2 separate regions of the Homo sapiens genome follow, and region 1 is linked to region 2. Evidence: promoter capture Hi-C in human tissues and cell types (Jung and others, 2019). All regions are on one chromosome and are shown on one strand. The core of a region is centred on a gene start or on the middle of the fragment in contact, and the rest is flanking DNA. Distances in the headings are between cores, read along the strand shown.

Region 1 (7,756 bases), core at 1,198-3,697, 1.6 Mb after region 2:
TGTAAGCCCCCAAGGAAATGCCTTGTTTCATTAAATACCTGTGGGCAAAATTGCAAACTGAAGTTCGAATCTTGAACCTCCAGACTGTCTAATCCTAGACAATTAATGGTGCAACATCTGCTCCGTTTTTCTAATCCCCGGCCCTATATCTGACTACACAGAACACATGCCGCCACTCTCTGATGCAGCAGAAGTCTGTCTGAAAATAAGCTAAACCAGATCCTTTTGGGGACTTGCTCATGGCTCCCACTGAATTTTAACTTGCAAAAAGCTCTCCCTTGCGGGGGCGTTAAGAGGATCTAATGTGATACTGTACATGAGAGCACAGAAACCAGCCTGGCTTCAGAAGCGTTTCTACTGGAAGTTTATTGTTGAAAGTTGTGGGGTTTGATAGAGCATTACCCAGGGACTAATCCCGCCGCTCCCAACCCTCCTCCTCTTCCGCCTCTGTTTATGCTCTTAGTTCCGGTGCCTCCGACGATGACAAAGAAGGGTCAGCGCTGACTCACAGCAGCGCTGTGAATACCATGACCCTGGTGGGCTGCAGGGCCTGAGATGTTTATTTCATTTCCCTTTCATTCCGTACTCAGCTGGGCTCTCAGGGAAGGAGAGGGAAAGTAGCCCACACTGACTAACCAGTCAAGAAACACTTACTGAGCCCTAGTCAAGTACTGCGCATTACGAGAAAACATGAGAACACATCGAACGCCCAGGGCTTTAGAGCTGTGCAGGGACTTGATGAGAACCCCATGCCCCGGCTTCCTTAAACAAGGTCACCAGCCCTGAGAAAGAACACTTTGGCTGTGTTGGAGTGTGTGGGGGCTGGGAGAGGCCTGGGATGGAGGTTGCTGGAAAGTGCTTATGACCAAGGGGCCTCAGTGCATTCATGCATTCCATTTAAACATGTCAACATATCCTCAACCTGGGCATAGGGGCATGCACTTGCAATCTCAGCTGCTCAGGAGGTGGAAGTGGGAGGATCCCTTGAGTTCAGGAGTGCAAGACCAGCCTCTAAAAAATAGCAAAAGAATGAGACCCTATCTCTTAAAACAAAAGAAAAAATATATATCTTACCAACATCATCAGTCATTAGTCAGTGGACTGACTTTTCTTCAGATTTGAATGCTTTGGAGGGTATAGATGAGTGTCCTGAACTAAACACTCTTTCACAGAAAGAAGTGGGACAGATGGAAGAAAGAAAGTGGCGACTGTTTATCCCTCACTCCTCTTCTCCAGCCCCCACCCCAGTAACAAATCCAGAAACCCCAAACTCTGAGGGGCCACAGTTACTGTTTTGTGTGTTTGTGCAATTGGGCAGCTGCCTCTACCCTATCAAAACGTGCAGGGGAGACGATTCCCATAAAAGCGGAGGAAGATGTTACAAGTCCAGCCCCATGGGACCATGCCTGACGGCAGAGCCAAGACGCTGGGAGTTCAGCACAATAGGGTGCCTCCACACCACGCTATCTGGGGTGAGCTTTCTGCCCAAAGGAGGAAATAAGAACAGCTGCTATCAATTGCAGACCACTCACCAGGGGCCAGACACCATGCTAAATGCTTTAGTTGCATTATCTCCTTAACTCTTGATACCACCACTACCCACGCCCTCCAGGGAGCTATAATTCTCTCTAATAAAGGCAGAGAGCAGTGAAGTGACTTGGTCCAGTTAACACAGATAGCAAGAAGAGGAGGGAAGATGCTTATCAGGTTTGTCTAATTTCGAATTCTGTGTTGATCTATTCCTGATACTGCTTGCCAGAAAAGAAGTTGGAAGCTCTAGAAAGAGGGTGGAGGAGGGGAGAAGATGATGACAGAGGCAGGAGGGAATATAAGGGCGAAGCCTATTGATCCAGTCTGGGTTCAGCAAGGGGAGAGCTTCAGCTTTGGAACAGGATAGAGCCTGTTTCCCGGAAGCACCCTTTAGGTCAGGGAACAGCACAAAGTGGTAAGATCTGTCTTCTGTATCTGCATCTGTAGACGAAGGTCTTGGGAAGAGATTCTCCAGGAACTGAGAGTAATTAGCAGACTTTCTGAGAACTCGCACTCAGAGTTCATGGAAGCGTCCTAACTTTTCCAGACATAATTGCAGATCGAGGCACTTGTACACGGCTCCCACACCATGGTGGGCAACGACAATAAGAAGGGACCACCAGTGACAAGGGCAGGTCTGTGAGGTAATCCAATGGTGACAGAGTATCCAACAGCCACAGGCATAGAGGGAAGGGGACCGGCTTTCCAGTGCCTGTTGCTGTTGTTGGTATTTCTGGACCCAGCCTTCCCCAAGCGCCTTAAGAAAACTGCCCGGGGAGGTGAACTCTCCTCTGCCCCATGCAGTCTTCAGAAACATCACTGAGAAGGAGACCCTTTTATTGTTTTCAATGCTCTGAAGACTTGAATGGCTGGAGGACCTCAATCAAGTGCAAAATCAGCAAGGTACACTCCTTTACTCATTCTCATTGCACAAAGAAGTGCCAAACATGATGTCTACCTTCAAGATGTAGGCATTTTTGTTTTGTATCATTTTGTTTGTCTTTTAAGAGAGTTACTGAGATGTAATTCACATACCTTACAATTCACACAATTGAAGTGTACCATTTAACGATTTTTAGTATAGTCACAGAATTGTGAAGCCATCACTACAATCAATTTTAAAATATTTCATCACCCAAAAAGGAGCCCTGTACCCATTAGTAGGCAATCCCCATTTCCCTTCAAATGACCCCCTTTCCCTGGTCCTAGGCAACCACTAACCCACTTTCTGTCTCTGTAGATTTGTGTATTCTGAACATTTTGTGTCAATGGAATCACACAGTATGTGGTCTTTTGTGACTGGTTTCTTTCACTGAGCATGTGTTTTCAAGGTTCATTCATGTTGCAGCATATGCAAGCACTTCATCCCTTTTTATACTGAGTCGCATTCCATGGTATGCATATCCATACCACATTTTGTTTATCCATCACCAGTTGATAGACATTTGGGTTGTTTCCACTTTGGGGCTCTTATGAATAGTGTAGCTGTGAACATTCATGCGTAAATTTTTGTGTAGATGTAACTTTTAATTCCTCCTGGGTACATAAAAGAGGTGAAATTACTGGGTCATATGGTAACTCTATAAACAGGTTTTTTCAAGAACTGCGAGACTGTTTTCCGAAGTAGCTACACTCATCAGCAATGTTTGAGATTGCAATTTCTCTATATTCTCATCAACACTTATTATTACCTGTCTTTTTTCCTAGCCATCCTAGCGAGTGTGGTATCTTATTGCATTTTTTATTAACACTTAAACAATTTTTTTTTTTTTTTTTTTGAGACCAGGTCTTGTTCTGTCACCCAGGCTGGAGTGCAGTGGTGCACTCACGGCTCACTGCAGCCTCGACCTCCTGGGCCCAAGTGATCCTCCCACCTCACCCTCCTGAGTATCTAGGACCACAGGTGTGCACCATCATGCCTGCCTAGTTTTTTTAATTTTAATTTTTTTAGAGATGGGATCTCTCTATGTTGCTCAGACTGGTCTCAAATACCTGGGCTCAAGTGATCCTTTTTCCTTGGCTTCCCAAAGTGCTAGAATGACAGGTGTGAGCCACCATGCCTAGACCTTTTATTGCATTTTGATTTATATTTTTCTAATGAGTAATGATATTGAGCATCCTTTCATGTATTTATGGGCATTTCTGTGTCCTCTTTGGAGAAATATCTATTTAGATCCTTTGCCTACTTTTTAATTGAGTTATTTGTCCTTTTATTATTTACTTGTAAGAGTTCTTTATATATTCTGAATATTCTGATATCTTTTTTCAGATATCTAAGAAATCATTGCCTAAACCAAGGTCATAAATATTTTACCTGTTTCCTTCTAAGAGTTTTACAGTTTTAGCTCATACATCTAAATCTACTATTTTGAGTTTTTCTTTCTTTTTTTTTTTTGGTATGGTGTGTGGTGGGGGTCCAAATCCATTTTTATTTTTTGGCACGTGGATATCTAGTTGCCCCAGCACCATTTGCTGAAAACACTGTTCTTTCCCTTATTAAATGTCATGGCACCTATGCTGAAAATCAACTGACTAGCTTACCATCCTGTTTGAGGAGCAGGTTACATCACATCACTGAAAAGGACAAGATACCTATGAGAATTGAGGTAGCCACAGGTGTTGCTGTTAGACTTAACAAAAAACCATTCAGATGATTAAATACTTCAGAGTCCAATTAAACAGTGCTAAGAATGGCAAAAGTTTAGAATCAAGATAAACTAAAGCTTACAAAATGCAAGCATGACAACGTAAAGGGCTTTGTTGGTTTGTTTCTTTTTAACATATCTCTAGAGCAAAACTTAGAGAAAAGAAGGGACGGACTTCCAGTTTGGGAACTCTGTTGCATAGTAGATTTATCAAACACCACTCTTACATTCCTATTTAATGCAACCTCTTCCACATGGATGGGGGGGGCACATCCCCCTCATTCAAGATTCTTCTTACATAGGAAGGTGTGACACTCCTGGACTCTCTGGACTTCTCACTTTCCAGGGGAAAAAGTATATTTTAACAGGATTCATGAATTTGAAGAGAAGAAACTGAGGATGCTCAGCTCAGCTCAGTTCTTCCCTTTTTCATCTTGGGAATGAGCTGCCTATGGGGAGCAGCAGTTTTTTAATTTAAGGAGTTAGGAAGCATACTTGCCCAAAGATGTAAGCCACATCTTAAGATTTTGCCTTCGGCCGAACGCGGTGGCCCACGCCTGTAATCCCAGCACTTTGGGAGGCCGAGGTGGGTGGATCACGAGGTCAGGAGATCGAGACCATCCTGGCTAACACAGTGAAACCCCGTGTCTACTAAAAATACAAAAAATTAGCCGGACGTGGTTGCGGGTGCCTGTAGTCCCAGCTACTCGGGAGGCTGAGGCAGGAGAACGGCATGAACGTGGTGGGTAGAGTTTGCAGTGAGCAGAGATCGCGCCACTGCACTCCAGCCTGGGGGACAGAGCAAGACTCCATTTCAAAAAAAAAAAAAAGACTTTGCTTTCATCTGTATCAGAACTGAGGTAGGGAAAGGAGAAGCCATTGATGGAGAGCACACTCAGAGACACCATCATTTGTTGCATGGGTCAGGAATACTGAGAATTAAGACAGGTGTATTAGTCCATTTTTATGCTGCTGACAAAGACATACCTGAGACTGGGTAATTTATAAAGAAAAAGAGGTTTAATGGACTCACAGTTCCACTGGCTCTGGAGGCCTCACAATCATGGTGGAAGGCAAAAGGCATGTCTTACATGGCAGCAGGCAAAGAGAGAATGAGAACCAAGGAAAAAGGGACACCTTTTATAAAACTATTGAGAACAGTATGGGGGAAACTGACCCCATGATTCAATTATCTCCCACCAGGTCCCTCCCACAACACATGGGAATCATGGGAGCTACAATTCAAGATGAGATTTGGGTGGGGACACAGCCAAATTATATCAACAGGAAATGGAGTTTTGAAACCAAAATAACACATGAAAAGGTTTTTTGGTAGGGCCAGGGTGCATGGGTATTGATCTGGGCAAGGCCCTGGGGCCTTAGGTGGTTGTGGAGGTTTATATTGAGCCAGTTAGATTTTTAGCCATTGTGCATTTGGTTTTTAATTACTGCACCCTGAGCAAAAGCTTATAATGGCTTTGTTCACTGGAGAGAGGCTGTTTCCATAGAGTCGAAACTGAATTATGGGCCAGGCACACAGTGGCTCACGCCTGTAATCCCAGCACTTTGTTCACTGGAGAGAGGCTGTTTCCGTAAAGTCGAAACTGAATTATGGGCCAGGCACACAGTGGCTCACCCCTGTAATCCCAGCACTTTGGGAGGCCGAGAAAGACAGATCATTTGAGGTCAGGAGTTCGAGACCAGCCTATCCAACATGGTGAAATCCCATTTCTACTAAAAATAAAAAAAGTCAGGCATGGTGGTGGGCACCTGTAATCCCAGCTACTCAGAAAGCTGAGGCAGGAGAATCAGTTGAACCCGGGAGGCGGAGGTTGCAGTGAGCCGAGATCACGCCACTGCACTCCAGCCTGGGTGACCAAACAAGATTCCATCTCAAAAAAAAAAAAAGGGGGACTGAATTATGGGCAGCTTCCAGCAAATGCTGCTCAGGCTGTACCTGCCTTAAGCAAAAGTACTCAGGCCATATGATTGGCCAGAGAAAACACCAGCCTAGTAAGTCAACTATGGCCTCAATACAGAAACAGTAGTGTCCAGGCCACCTGCTGCAATTTATTATGCAGAAGCAGCTTAGACCTGCATCCCAGGCTAGGCTGAGATGGGATTTGATCTTTTCAGTCTTTACAGGGCAGAGCAATATCAGTTCCTTTTAAAAAGCAAGGCATCTTAGTTCTGAGTTTGTTACAGGGTACTACTGAGGCTCTAATTTTAAATTATTAGTGCCAGGGCCAGACACGGTGGCTCATATCTGTAACCCCAGCACTTTGGGAGGCTGAGGCAGGCAGATCAACAGAGGTCAGGAGTTCAAAACCAGCCTGGCCAACATGGTGAAACCCCATCTCTACCAAAAAATACAAAAATTAGCCAGGCATGATGGCATGCACCTGTAGTCCCAACTACTGGGGAGGTTGAGGTGGGAGGATCACTTGAACCCAGGAGGCAGAGGTTGCAGTGAGCCGAGATCACACCACTGCACTCCAGCCTGGGCAACAGAGTAAGACCCTGACTCAAAAAAACAAATTATTAGTTCCAGGCCTAAGTTGGCAGAGCCAAATTTGCTTTCCTGAATATCATTTTACATTCAGGTTCAAGGAGGGGCCTCTGGAAGAAGTAATTTTGTATTCATGAGCCTTATTCTAAGATGCAAACAAAAAATAAAATAATAGTATTTCCAGGTGACTTTCAAGGTAATTCATGTATTGTACGTAGACACTGGGCACTGCTCAGGCCCTGTGGCCATGTGTCCAAGACATGTATAGAATTTAGAAGTCTAGAAAATGCAGTGCCTTGAGAAGTCAAGGTGGAAAAATTCGTTCTTTCTGGGTCATGGAGGCAAAGCGTTTAAAAGCCCATAGCAGCTCCTCGCCAGAATCATCAGAGGGTAATTTTTCCAGCTTAAAAAAATGTGGACATGAGGTCAAAACCTTCTGTAGAAGGTTCTTGGTCTTAAACAATTCCAAAATAAGAATCAGTGGCAGCCCTTGTTGTGGCCCAGAACTGAAAATATCTGCTCACTTGATAGAACGGAGGCCGTGTTACCCATCAGGGCTCACTCCTCAATGAAGCACTGAAATTCCAGAACTCAGGGCTACAGAGATAATGTAAATGCGAATTTGCAAGCTCTGCAAGCATCTCGATGTCCTTCTCATACAGTGCAGACGGTGTACACAGATGGAGTCCCGCCCCAGTTTAGGTAAATTTATAGTGCTGAAAATAATGCGTAGTGCCAAAATTAACCTTTTGCTAGGAGATTTCTTCCAATTGAGATTACGTTCTTCAGATGTGGATCCCAGACAACTGACATCCACTGAAAAGCATGATGGTGAAGTAGAAACCAAGGTCTCCTCTGTCTGTTCCCCTGCCCTCAGAATGGCCCTGGGACAGCACTAAGTATTAGAGTCTGAGAATATAACTTTACCTGAGATAAGTGCTAAAAGTTGGCTGATTTTCTTAACTGGGGGTGTAGGCGTATGGAAAGTCTCTAACTGTGATCATCTTATGTGTCCTGTTAAATGATCAAGCTCTTTAAAAGTGAGGTGTTGCCCGCTGGGCATGGTGGCTCA
Region 2 (7,763 bases), core at 3,705-6,204:
CTACCATCATATGCAAATGATGGTGGTAGTGAATTACACACCCTTGGTGGATGTAGTGGACCGGTGCTCAGCATTCATTTCGACTTCCGTCCTCCTAGTAGGTCTTCCTGGTTTGCAGAGGTAGGGCACCTGGAAACTACATTACCCAAACTTCCTTGCAGCTAGGGTTCTGTATGCAAATTAGGCTCTGCCAATTAGGCTGACTCAGAGAAGATTTAAGAGGCAGAAGATTTAAGTGGCAGAGCTTTTGACTGTTAACTTCTAGCGAGCATAGACCTTTTCAGATGTTGGGTTTTTGTTTTTCCCCAAAACCTCCCAGCGTCCAATCATTAGCTCCGAGCGTATAAAGAGGCGGGGTGATGGGGTCAGTGGCTTTCTGAACCTGGCATCGGGCAATGAAATATTCTCAGAGTCACAATTGCAATGGAAATTCTTTGGATTCCCTACTGGACTGAATAGAGGTAACAGTTTCACAGTGGGCCAGGCCCAAATTTCTGTCCACCCTCCCTTCCCCCACCCCCGCACCCCAACCTCCCCGTGTTTCTCCCTGTGTCTTCCCTTCCTCAGTAAATGGTACCACCATTCATCCAGTTGCTCCTAATAAACACTCAGGAGTTGGTTCTTCAAGTCTTATCAGTCCCCAACATGCAAGTCACCTGCAAGTCCTGTTCAATCTATATCTAATATATACCCAATATGACCACTTCTCCATCCATCTCCACTGTTAACACCTTGGTCCAAGCCACCATTACCTTTCTCCTGTGCTCTGGTAATAGATTCCTAATTAGTTTCCCTGCTTCCTGTCTTGCCCCTTGATAACCCATTTTCCATATAGCTGGACGCTGCAGAACATTATTTTATTTATTTGTTATTTTTTGAGACAGAGTCTTGCTCTGTTGCCGAGGCTGGAGTGCAATGGCGCCATCTCTGCTCACTGCAACCTCCGCCTCCCTGGTTCAAGCGATTCTCTTGCCTTAGCCTCCCAAGTAGCTGAGATTACATGCGCCCACCACCATACCTGGCTAATTTTTGGATTTTTAGTAGAGACAGGGTTTCACCACGTTGGCCAAGCTGGTCTGGAACTGCTGACCTCAGGTTATCCACTCGCCTCTGCCTCCCAAAGTGCTGGGATTACAGGTGTGAGCCACTGCGCCTGGCCAGAACATTCCTTTAAAATCATAATTCAGATAATTTACACTCCTACTTAAAATCCTTAAGTGGCCTCATGTTGCATTTAGAATTCGAATCTTTGCTGTGGCTCAAGAGGTCGTATGAGCTGACCTCACTCTACCATGCCCCCTCTGGCTCAATGCTCTGTGGTCATTCTGGCCTTGCAGTTCTGCAAAGCCAGGATCTCCTGCCTCAGGGCCTTTGCACTTGCAGTAACTTCTGCCTGGATTGGTTTCCCTTCAGATCGTGAAATGGCTGGCTCACTCTCCTCATGGACTTTTCAGCTCACTTGTCACCTCTCAGAGAGCCTTTTCTCACCACCCTCTTGAAAGTTGTCCCCTGTGCCTATCACTATCACAGCATTGATCACTGTCCAAAACTACATATTATTACTCTTTCATTATCAGTCCCTCCAACTAAAAGCAGACATAGTATAAACAAGGATTCTGTCTATGTTGTATCCCTAGTACCTCTGCACAGAGTAGATGCTCAGTAAATAATTGTTGAGGCGGGGCATGGTGGCTCACACCTTTAATCCCAGCACTTTGGGAGGCTGAGGGGGGTGGATCACCTGAGGTCAGGAGTTTGAGAGCAGCCTGGCCAACATGGTGAAACCCCGTCTATACTAAAAATACAAAAAATTAGCCAGGCATGGTGGTGTGCGCCTGTAATCCCAGCTACTCAGGAGGCTGAGGCAGGAGAATGGCTGGAACCCAGGAGACGGAGGTTGCAGTGAGCCGAGATCGTGCCACTGCATTACAGCCTGGACAACAGAGTAAGACTCCATCTCAAAAAATAAATAAAAATAAATTTAAAAAACTGTTGAATGTATTAACTTCTTTATGTCTCATTCTAGGGTGCATGTGGGTTTCATATGAAGACATAAAGCATTCTAAATATTATGTCACTGTTAGGTAACATGTTATGTTATGTTATGTTATGTTATGTTATGTTATGTTATGTTATGTTATGTTATAGGCCCTTCCTCTCAGCGGGTTTCTAGAACTGGGTTCTCTCTTTCCTTAGTACTGAGAAAAGTGATAGACTTAATGGAGAAAGGGTGGGGGGCTACAAATGAAGCTCAAGAGACTGGCATTGTCCCCCTCCCACACCCCACAGTCAGGGACCACTGGGGGTGGAAGGGGCAGGGATGGGGTCCTTCAGAATACACGCTCACTAATTCTTTCGCTCAGTCCTTCACCCGTCTCAGGCCCACATCAGTTCTCTGCCTATCCTATACGTACTTACCTGTTGTGTGCCCAGAACTACCCCTTAGCTAGCTTCCCTACCTGCACATCATTTGAGGGTTACCTAATCCCCAAGCCGGCCCAAGGAGTCAGACACAGTCTCCTCTCCTCCTTCCTTTGTTGCCCCAAAGACAAGGTCCCAGCCCTCTTATGTTAGGATTGGGTTGCTAATCACTGCAGCAGAATAGTAATGAAAATTTCTTGGAGCTGTGGTTCCTGACTCCTGCTGAGAGAAACTGTTGTAAGGGACAGGATCCCAGTGGCTTAGAATGAGCCACAGGTGGGGTTTGGAGTGCCTTTTCCTTTCCCGTAAAAACAAAGACAAGCCAAGAGGCACCCTCAACTCCTTTACAGTGCTTTTTCTACACATCATTGGTGCCTGTGGACCCTAAGGGCTTCTCATTCTGTGCGCTTCTGCTGTGTCTTGGAGCAATGTCTCTGGGCTCCTGTTTACAGGGTTTCCCCATGGCTAGGCAGAAGGTACTGGGGTTAGTGCTTCTACATCAGGGTCGCCACAAATCCTGCTAGGGACAGTTGAAGGGGCCTAGAAGGACTGCAAGGGTGTTGCTCTTGGTATATACTCTGCTGCCCTATCTTCTGCAGTCAACGGCTACCGGAGAACTCCTCCAGCTTCCATAAGCAAGGGATGACAAGGGAGTGTCTGGATTGCCTGGGGTTCAGGCCTCCGGGTTTAAACAACTTTCAAGTAATCTGGTAAACTTGGGTGCCCCCCTGTGGTTCTGAGTGGAATGTGTCCATTTTGCCTTCAGGGAAGGCGATCAGGTTAGCAGGGGACATCCTCTGTCACCTTGCTACTCAGTGTGCTTTGACCCACCCACCACCGGCAGCATCTCAGGGCTCATTCCAGACCTACTTTATTGGAGTCTACTTTGAACAAGATCTACATGTTACAGTTTGGAAGGCACTGCTCTGGCAGCCCCTAAGATGGCCATAAAGCCCTCCTCTTCTCACTCCCTGCACCAAAGACCATGCAGCTCCCAGGCAGAGTTGACTCTCCTTAGGGACTAAAGAGGAAGATTAGGTCACATCCCATTTCCATACCCCTAACCACTTCCCAAGGTGTGCTTTTCCCAAAACAGTATGCTTGGTTCTCCCTTGAGCTTTGGATCAACCTCTTCAAACCCAGGCATCACGGCTGAGGGCAGTGAGTTTGAAGTGACTCATCCTTGTCCTCACAGAGCTCATGACATTCATTTTTTTCAAGCTTATTTGGTCCAGTCCATGGCATGTACAGCAGAAGGCCTAAGCTGTGCACGGTGCTGCTCGCTCCTTGCCACGGTAACTGAACCCCTGTTGTAGAGGAAATGGGCCTGTTTATATAAGCACCTGTTATGGGATTAACCCCAAGAGTGTTGGTCTGAGTCTCAGTTTTTTCCAACCCTTCTGCACTGTGCCTCCATACAGATTGCTTCTCTAAACCATCTGGCTTTAAGTTAAACTTCTCTGAGCAGCTTGGATTTCCCCACAGCAATGGATCTTTTTGCATGGATCTGGATTCCATTTAGGGGCCCTGCAAAATGTTGAATTAAAGATCAGGAGCCCTGGTCTCTACTTCTTCCTCTGCCCCCAACTACCTCTGTGACCTCAGGCAAGTTGCAAATAAGTGTGTTCATACCTGCCCTGCCTTTGTCAAAGGATGGCGTGGCTGATGAAAAGTGTGTGCCTAGAAGCTTTGCGAGCTACGAAGCACTTTCGGTAACTCTGAACCATTTTCAAAATGTATATGAAAGTGATTGCTATTGAAACTTAAGATAATTTGCAGATGAAACCTAAGCATCTTTCTAATGCTCAGGAATGCTTGCAAGAAGGCAAAAATCCAACAGTTGAGATGTACTTGGGGAGTCAGTCCCTTCTCCAGAGGGGATGATCATCTTTCTAGAATCTTTACAGGGTTGGTGTGAGTGTGTGTTGTTGGCAGACAGGGAGTGCTCGCATGTAGTTAAACGGTTGCCTCTCTCTCTCTCTCTCTCTCTGTGTGTGTGTGTTTGTGAAACTGGTATCTGGTTAGGCCCACATGAGCTGTCTTATGTGTCTCTCTGTGCAGTGCCGTGTGTGTCATTCAGCTGTTAAGCGTTGAGAGACCTGGGTTCTGGTTTGGTGACCTTGAATAAATCCCTCAGACTTTCCAAGCCTGTTTCCTTATTTGTAACTTAGTGGTTTGTCCCTTCCAACTTGCGTACAGCTTGGAGGGGGGGGCCTTCACTACTGATTTCACTGTCTAGTTTGGTTTCTGGGTCTCTGTTCCAGTGGGCCAGCCACTCTTTGCTGGCGCCTCCCTGTGCCAACTTCTGTACCTGAATTGTTGCTCACTGAAGAGCTGGCATTTAGCTTTTTGGAAATTGTCTCTAACTCACTGGAAATGCAGGAAGCTTGAGTATAAAACTCACTCAGAAAAAAAAAAAAAAAAGAAAAAAAAGAACACACACTCAGAAGAAACCGCAGGGCCTATCAGCCTGTCGTCATCGAGCAGACTAGAATAGTATAGAAAACCCTAGGCAGAGAGGAAATGAACTTCAGAGAAGGGAAACACACGGCTAAGAAGAGAGAGGCAAGGGCAGGAGTGAAGGAGAGAGCTGAAGCCTGGGGCTCCGAGATGGTCAGAGGATGGGAGACGGGGCAGTGAAACAAGGCTTCTTGTATCTTCAGCAGCAGCAGACGTTTGGAAAGGTAGGAGTGAGGCTGGGCTGGGGTTGGGCAGGGGGCCTGGGAGGCTGCTAGAATTCCTGGGTTGGAGAGGGAGTTTCATATTCAAAACCCTTATAGGTCTGACTGTGCACCCACCAAGTTAGACCCAGAGCTCAACTTTGGGAGGGCTCTTTTCCTACCCGACGCTGTCTCCTGAACCAGGCCCCAACCAGGTCCCAAACTGTGCTCCTTACTGAGGGCTGTTTGCCCTGGGTGGGGGTGGGGGATGTGCTGCTTTCATCTCTTGCCTCTTTTGCTCTCTTGCTCTATGTTGACTTCTTTTCACCGGACACCTTGGAAGGGAATGGAAGGGGCAGCTGGAGGGACAGTTTAGGATGACAATAGAGGTTCCTTCCCAACCCCAGTGGGGTGCATGTGGCTGGTGTTCAGCTTGGGCTGGGGCCTCTGGGGGCCTGGACCCCAGCCGGCTGTCCATCCTCTTTCCCCTTCCCTGGCCTCCTTGAACCAGGAAGTCCTCGTCCCCTAACCAACACTGGGGGGCACACCTGTCTCTCTCTCATGGCCCAACCTATCAAGGAATGAGGCAGCAAGGTTCAGGAGGGTGGAGAGAAGTTCTCCTTCAGGATTTCGCACAGAAGGAGAATGAGGTCTCCAGCCCGGGTCACACGCCGCCCTCCTCACTCCCTCCTCTGGGCCTCGGCCACTGCCCCGCTTTCCTCCCCAGACTGGAGTCCACTGCGGTGGGCCTGTTTGGCCTTCTTGCAGCCTGCTTTGGGCTCATCCCGGCGTTGCTTTCTGCCTGGGCAGTCTCTGCTCTTGCTCGTGGGCCTCCTTCTCGGGGCTGGCGGCTGATCTCCGATTTTCTAATTCCTGCAGTCACTGTCCTCTTCTCTGCCTCCCTGGGTCTCATGTGATCTTCACCTCTCTCTCCCCATCTCCAAGTGGCTGCCCCAGTCCCCCTCCCACGGTTCCTCTTCTCCCCTTGGCTCACGATCTCCCCGTCTCTGGGTGGCTCCCTCCCGCCCCCGCCTCCCACGCCTCTGGCACAGAAATGGCGCCGCTTCGGCGCCTCACTGTATGGAGGGTCGGACTGCGCCTTGGCCCGGCTGGAGCTGCAGGAGGGCCCGGAGAAGCCTCGTCGGTGTGAGGCTGCCCGGAAGGTCATCCGCCTCAGTGACTGCCTGCGGGTGGCCGAGGCCGGCGGAGAGGCCAGCAGCCCCCGGGACACCAGTGCCTTCTTCCTGGAGACCAAGGAGCGCCTGTACCTCCTGGCGGCCCCTGCAGCGGAGCGCGGCGACTGGGTGCAGGCCATCTGCCTCCTGGCCTTCCCCGTGAGTCGCGCGGGGTGCGGAAAGGGCAAGGGGGCGTGCAGGCCGAGGGTGTTAGATACTTCCTGTGGGCAAGTGTTACAGGTGTCAAGGTCAGGGTGATGGGGTGCTTCCTCCATGTGGGGGGACCCGAACCCAGTGTGCAGACAGAGCCAGCAGGTTGAGGTGGCCTGAAAGAAGGCCTGGGCCAGAGGGGGGCCTGGGGATCGGGGAAGGTGATGAGACGGGGCGCCTCCTCCCTAGGGGCAGAGGAAGGAGCTCTCGGGGCCAGAGGGAAAGCAGAGCCGGCCCTGCATGGAGGAAAATGAATTGTACAGCAGCGCAGTCACAGGTGAGGGGGCGGGGGCTGCCCTGCTCTCCCCTGGGGGCTCTCCCCAGGGTGAGGTGGAGAGGAGGTGTGGGCTGGCTAGCTGCTGGCCCCGAGTCTTCCTGCCTTGTGGTTATCCCCAGCCTGGGCCAGCCCCGTTATCAGCCTCTCCTTCTCGCTTCCGGGTGCAGCCCAACGTAGGGAGCCTACCCTGCCTTGAGTCTCTCCCTTGGTTCACCTCATCTTACCTAGGGCCTGCTGGTGGGAGAGGGGAAGGCTGGGGGCCCAGGTGAGGGTGCTGCTTTTTTCTATTTTTGAGACGGAGTTTTGCTCTTGTCGCTCAGGCTGGAGTGCAATGGCACAATCTCGGCTCACTGCAACCGCCGCTTCCCGGGTTCAAGCGATTCTCCTGCCTCAGCCTCCTGAGCAGCTGGGATTACAGGCGTCGGCCACCACGCCTGGCTAATTTTTTGTATTTTTAGTAGAGTCGGGGTTTCACCATGTTGGCCAGGCTGGTCTCAAACTCCTGACATCAGGTGATCCACCTGCCTCAGCCTCCCAAAGTGTTGGGATTACAGGCATGAGCCACTGCGCCTGGCCCCAGGTGTTGCTTTTGAGGAGCTGGTGGAGGGAGGAGAAACTTTCATCTGCCTTCCATCTAAGCTTCACCCCCAGGGCCCCGGCAGTGGGAGGGCAGGGCCAAGGCTTCACCTGCAGCTGTGACCGTAGGGACTAGGGTGGTGGCTGGTTTGGGGTGAGAGATGGGGTGGGGAAGACAAGACTGTGGCTCTGGCGACAGGGGCAGGAAGGATGTGGGCACGAGGTTGGGGTGGATGTGGGTAGGGGCGTGATGCCTACTAGGGTAGGGGGTGGAGGTACCTGGCCTTTTGGGGAGTATGACCTGGCACAGAGCAGCTCAGCCTCCAAGACCCAGGCAGGGGGCCATAAGTGTGTGGATAATACTTTCTAGAAAAGTTCTGGTACGCTCATTTAGAACTGGGCAGTGGTGAGGCAGGCCAGCTGTTTCCCATTAACTGCCTTCGC

The links. The method cuts DNA at HindIII sites, captures the fragments that hold promoters and counts their contacts. A contact is called where the count stands out against the background at its distance.
Region 1: a contact is called between a fragment that was not itself captured here and the fragment with the promoter of DOK2 in region 2, in 1 of the 25 tissues and cell types used here (mesenchymal stem cells).

What each region holds. Positions count from the first base shown.
Region 1 is chr8:20,322,202-20,329,957 of GRCh38, reverse strand. No RefSeq gene overlaps it. Among named protein-coding and RNA genes, the nearest start is that of LZTS1, 22 kb to the right of the region's middle. RefSeq lists an enhancer at 616-1,232. The HindIII fragment of the contact is 5,001 bases long and covers 1-4,947 here.
Region 2 is chr8:21,910,881-21,918,643 of GRCh38, reverse strand. DOK2 (docking protein 2) reads left to right here and starts at 4,954. Exons shown (of 5, transcript NM_003974.4): 1 at 4,954-5,105; 2 at 6,134-6,415; 3 at 6,656-6,743. The coding sequence starts at 5,043. RefSeq lists an enhancer at 6,937-7,036. The HindIII fragment of the contact is 2,220 bases long and covers 3,876-6,095 here.